Linked DNA regions of Homo sapiens: region 2 is linked to region 1. The links are contacts of gene promoters, found by promoter capture Hi-C in blood cells and fetal thymus (Javierre and others, 2016). All regions are on one chromosome and are shown on one strand. Each heading gives the region's core, a stretch centred on a gene start or on the middle of the fragment in contact. The rest is flanking DNA. Distances are from core to core; before and after follow the strand shown.

Region 1 (2,700 bases), core at 154-2,653:
TTTCGGAATCTGTATTATTTTTATTGTTGAACTGTTATTTTTTACTGTTTTCCCCCACAAATATTAACCACCCACAGTTGCTTCAATCCGTAGATGGGGAACCTGTAAACATGGACAGCTGACTGTACTTTGTCCTATGTCTCAGAGACACTGAGTTTAAGGCCCAGGATTCCATGTTGACCATCCAGCTCCAAAGCTGAAGCTTTTAATCACCACACACCACTGCTTTCCCACTTAGCAGATGAAACTGAAGCCCAGAGAGGTTAAGAGGTTGTCCAAGATCACAGGGGTGGTGAGTGACCAAGCCTGGATTTGATCTATCCTCACAGAGACAGATATTTGCAGGTACTGCTGTTCTATATTAGTTACCTGTTTCCCTTGCTAGGCTGCATCCCTAGCTCTCAGACCAGGGATAGAATTCAAACGTTTGGAAAATTAACGCCTTGAAGACTCAAAGCAGTCCATTCACTTCCACGAGTAATTTCACTTGCTTTCTCACAATCCCTAGGTAAGATAACAGTTAACATATAATCAGCACTCCCATGTGACACTTTTCAATGGCCATGCTAAGCACCTGATATAGGTGTTATTATCTCTTGTAAATCTCACCAACACTATTTTGCAAGAACTAATATCCTCATTTAATGGAAGAGGAAACTGAGGCTCAGTGACTTGCCCAAGCGCCTGCCAACTAGTAAGTGGCAGAGCCAGGATTCTAGATCAGGCTCTATGACCACAGAGTCCACATTTTTCTTTTCTTTTTTTTTGAGCTCTGTCACCCAGGCTCGAGTGCTGTGGTACGATCTGGCTCACTGCAACCTCTGCCTCTCGGGTTCAAGTGATTCTCCTGCCTCAGCCTCCCGGGTAGCTGGGATTACAGGCACACACCACCACGCCCGGCTACTTTTTGTATTTTTAGTAGGGACGGGGGTTTCACCATGTTGGCCAAGCTGGTCTCGAACTCCTGACCTCAAGTGATCGGCCCGCCTTGGTCTCCCAAAGTGCTGGGATTACTTACAGGCGTGAGCCACCGCGACCGGACCAGAGTCCACATTTTTGACGTCGAGGCCACACTCAGTTCCACAGATGGGGAAACTGAGGCCCGGGGCAGGGCACTACATTGTGCCAGCGGAATGGTGGCCATTGAGGGAAGCCCAGGCTGCACGCCAATTCTTCCTCCTTGGTCAGGGAAGTCACTGAGGTGCAGGAGGCGGAGGGCGACAAGTGGAAGCCCCTTCCCATTATTAAGGATCGAGAGCGGGCGTAATTTGGGATCTAACCCACGAGGCGGAACCACCAGGGCAATGGCGCAAACGGAGAACCGGAAGTGCGTCACTCAACGGACGGGCGAATAAGCCGCAGGCCACCAATGGGAACGCCGCGTTCGCGTTCGCCCCGCCTCAAAGGAAGAAGAGTCCACCTTGCGACCGTATCCGCTAGCGCGGCCTGGGATGCGCTTGGGCTCCCTGGTGGGTAACGTGGGGAGCTAGGGGTTGGAGGGGAAAGAAGAGGGACTTCAAGGAAGGCGAGGGGAGGACGGAAGGTGGGGTGGGCGAGACAGGCAGTGGGGTCCGGCCCCGGGGTCGGTCCCCGTGGGCTGTGGAACTCGGGGACTGGGGTCTTGGGGTTTCCCCCTTCTTGATGGGGAAACTGAGGCCCAGACAGGGGCCGCAGAAAACAGCGGACTGGGATGTCCTCCCGCAACACACACGCAGACATCTAAAAATCTTACTATTTAGTGAAAAATATTTTTAATCGTAATTACGATTTAACAGGTAAAGATACTTTTCATTGTAACAGGTGAAAAAGCAAAATATAAAATTCGATTCAAACTGTGATTACATCTATGGAAAATACAGCCTTTGCCGACCACCCTCTTTGTCCCGCCGCCCTCCGTGCTCCCCTCTGTTTTGTGTACGGAGTTTCTTACTTTGTACAAGTCCGCAGCCGCTTATGTTACAGCCCCGAGGCCAGATGCGTTTAAAATCGAGGAGTTCTCGGAGTTTGGAAAGGTAAAGTCCCTATGTTCTATGTTAGGTTTCACCCTCAGAGGGGGCTGGAGCAGCGGCTTGTAATCAAATACACGACCCTTTCCACAGCTAAAGTTATGAAGATACGCATATATTACATTGACCTGGTCGCGGTGGCCCACGGCTATAATTCCAGCACTTTGGGAAGCTGAGGGGGGCGGATCACCTGAGGTTCGGAGTTCGAAACCAGCCTGGCTAATATGGTGAAACCCTGTCTCTACTAAAAATACAAAAAATTAGCCGGGCGTGGTGGTGCGTGCCTGTAATCCCAGCTACTCGGGAGGCTGAGACGGAAGGCTGAGGCAGGAGAATCGCTTGAACCCGGGAGGCGGAGGTTGCAGTGAATCAAGATCGTGCCACTTCACTCCAGCTTGGGCAACAAGAGCGAAACTCCGTCTCAAAAAAAAAAATGCATATATTTACACTGTTGGGATAAATAACCATAAATAGCCTCACCTTAAGTCAGGTCAAGTTTTCCAACTTAAACAAGTTTTGGTATTCAGACTTTTTTTTTTTTTTCCCCTGCATCCGATCATCCACTAGTATTCATACCTTTTTAGATTTGAGGGTTGCAGATGAGGGACCTGGATTGTAGTTGTTCTGTTCACTCACTTTTCTCACTCTCGCTGGATAGAGAGTGTCCTTGAAAACAGGAACTGTGCTGTTGTAT
Region 2 (2,700 bases), core at 48-2,547, 280 kb before region 1:
TCTCAAACTCCCGACCTCAGGTGATCGCCCACCTTGGCCTCTCAAAGTGCTGGGATTACAGGCGTGAGCCACCCCATCTGGCTGTGTTGACATTTGTACTTATGACACAAAGCAATGGTGGGTAAAACTGCTTGCAGTCTGAATCAAGGCAATGTTACCACAATGTACTAGAAACCTTCCCTCCTTCCTTCCTCCCTCCCTTCTTCCATCCCTCCCTTCTTTCCTCCTTCCTTTCTCTCTCCTCTCCCTCCCTTCTTTCCTTCCTTCCTTTCTCTCTCCTCTCTCCCCCCACCCCACCCCCTGCTCTCTCTCTCTCTAGACAAGGTCTTTTTGCCCAGGCTGGAGTGCAGTGGCACAGTCATGGCTCACTGTAGCCTCAACCTCCTAAGCTCAACTGATCCTGAGTGGCTGGGACTACAGGCACGAGCCACTATACCTGTCTAATTTTTTACTTTTTACAGAGATGGGGTCTCACTAAGTTGCCCAGGCTGGTCTTGACCTCCTGGGCTCAAGTGATCCCCACACCTCAGTCTCCTTAGCAGCTAGAACCACAGGTGCATGCTACCATGCCTGACTATTATTTATTTATTTATTTATTTTATTTATTTATTTAGTAGAGATGGAGTCTCACTATGTTGACGAAGCTGGTCTTGAATTTCTGGGCTGAAGAGATCCTCTTGTCTTGGCCTCCCAAAGCGGTGGGACTATAGGCGTGAGCCACTGAACCCAACCATCAGGACATTCTTAAATAAAAATAATTGTTTGTTTGTTTTAAATGTGAGTACATGGCAGTAAATAAAATAATAGACAAATTTTGGTTATTCAGTCTTGGGAATTTGGCAGAAATTTTCTCAAATATGAAATAAGTGAGTCTGTCACTTCAAGGAAACAGCTGACAATATTTGCTGCCAATGTTAAAATTCAAGCTGTCAAGTGAAAACAAGTTGAAAACTTGTTTCCATTACCTTGAGTTTGATAGTTTCCTAATACTTAAACTCCTTTTTAAAATGAAATAGGTGGTGATATTAACAAATGTGATTTTTTAAATACCGTATAATGGCATCTGAAAGGTCAACGTTTAGATTTGCATAACTCACTGAACCAACATTTTCTAAACGACCAATGGCTGATGTTATAAAACCATATATGGGTAAAGCAGCCAATGAAAGGGCAAGATAGACCAATGGATTTTAATGTAACACAGTATAAAAGTTCACCTATAAGGCTTCAGATGACACACTGTGACTAACATTTAAGAAACTGCCACTTGTGGCCTGGCATGGTTCTTCATGCCTGTAATCCCAGCACTTTGGGAGGCCAAGGCGGGCGGATCACCTGAGGTTGGCAGTTTGAGACCAGCCTGACCAACATAGAGAAACCCCATCTCTACTAAAAGTACAAAATTAGCTGAGCGTGGTGGCACATGCCTGTAATCCCAGCTACTTGGGAGGCTGAGGCAGGAGAATCGCTTGAACCCGGGAGGCGGAGGTTGCGGTGAGCCGAGATCAGGCCATTGCACTCCAGCCTGGGCAACGACGGCAAAACTCCCGTCTCAAAAAAAAAAAAAAAAAAAAAAAACTGCCACTTGCAGGCCAGGCATGGTGGCTCACGTCTGTAATCCCAGCACTTTGGGAAATGGAGGCAGGCTGATCACCTGAGGTCAGGAGTTTGCGACCAGCTGGCCAACATGGGGAAACCCCATGTCTACTAAAAATAAAAAAAATTAGCTGGGCATGGTGGTTCACACCTGTGATCCCAGCTACTCGGGAGGTTGAGGCAGGAGAATCGCTTGAACCCAGCAGGCAGAGGTTGCAGTGAGCTGAGATCGTGCCACTGCACTCCAGCCTGGGCGACAGTGAGACTTTTTCTCAAAAAAAAAAAAAAAAAGAAAAAAGAAACTGGCATTTGCTAAATTTTGTATAGTATGAAAGGAGAGTGTCTACAGTTATCTGAAAAGGCAATTAAAATGTTTCTCTCTGCTCCAATTATATATTTGTATGAGGCCAAATTTTCTTCATACACACCAGCCAAAACAGCATAACAAAAAACAGTTTGAATCCTGAAGCAGAAATGAGAGTAGTTTTTTCTATTTCTATTGAATAAACTTGAAAAAACATAAAATAATGCTACTCTTCCTATTAATTTTTTGGAGGCAAATGTAATTGTTTTCCATTAAAAATATTATTTATGTTCAGAAGTAATGGGTTTATTGTTGTTGGAGTTTTTTTGAGACAGGGTCTAGCTATGTTGCCCAGGCTGGTCTTGAACTCCTGAGCTCAAGCAATCCACCCACTTCAGCCTCCCAAACTGCTGGGATCACAGGTGTGAGGCACTGCACATGGCCAATTATTATTATGATTATTATGAGCCACTGCACCTGGCCAATTATTATTATTATTATTGGGTTTTTTTGAGACAGAGTCTCGCCCTGTTGCCCAGGCTGGAGTGCAGTGGCAAGATCTCGGCTTCAAATGATTCTCCTGCCTCAGCCTTCCAAGTAGCTGGGATTACAGACATGTGTCACCACGTCCGGCTAAGTTTTAGTAGAGACAAGGTTTCACCATGTTGGCCAGGCTGGTCTCGAACTCCTGACCTCAAGTGATCCACCTGCCTTGGCCTTCCAGAGTGCTAGGATTACAGGCACGAGTCCATGCCCGGCCCAATTTTTATTATTTTTAAAGGAACTAATTAATGGACATC

The links. The method cuts DNA at HindIII sites, captures the fragments that hold promoters and counts their contacts. A CHiCAGO score of 5 or more calls a contact.
Region 2: a contact is called between a fragment that was not itself captured here and the fragment with the promoter of NSMCE1 in region 1, in 1 of 17 cell types (neutrophils). The highest score is 5.9, in neutrophils.

Annotation. Positions count from the first base shown.
Region 1 is chr16:27,267,475-27,270,174 of GRCh38, reverse strand. It overlaps NSMCE1 (NSE1 component of SMC5/6 complex), which reads left to right and starts at 1,403. Exons shown (of 8, transcript NM_145080.4): 1 at 1,403-1,469. It overlaps NSMCE1-DT (NSMCE1 divergent transcript), which reads right to left and starts at 1,970. Exons shown (of 5, transcript NR_037184.1): 1 at 1,931-1,970. RefSeq lists a silencer at 1,430-1,509. The HindIII fragment of the contact is 3,617 bases long and covers 205-2,700 here.
Region 2 is chr16:27,551,565-27,554,264 of GRCh38, reverse strand. All of the region lies in intron 1 of KATNIP (katanin interacting protein), which reads right to left. Among named protein-coding and RNA genes, the nearest start is that of KATNIP, 2.8 kb to the right of the region's middle. The HindIII fragment of the contact is 4,528 bases long and covers 1-2,700 here.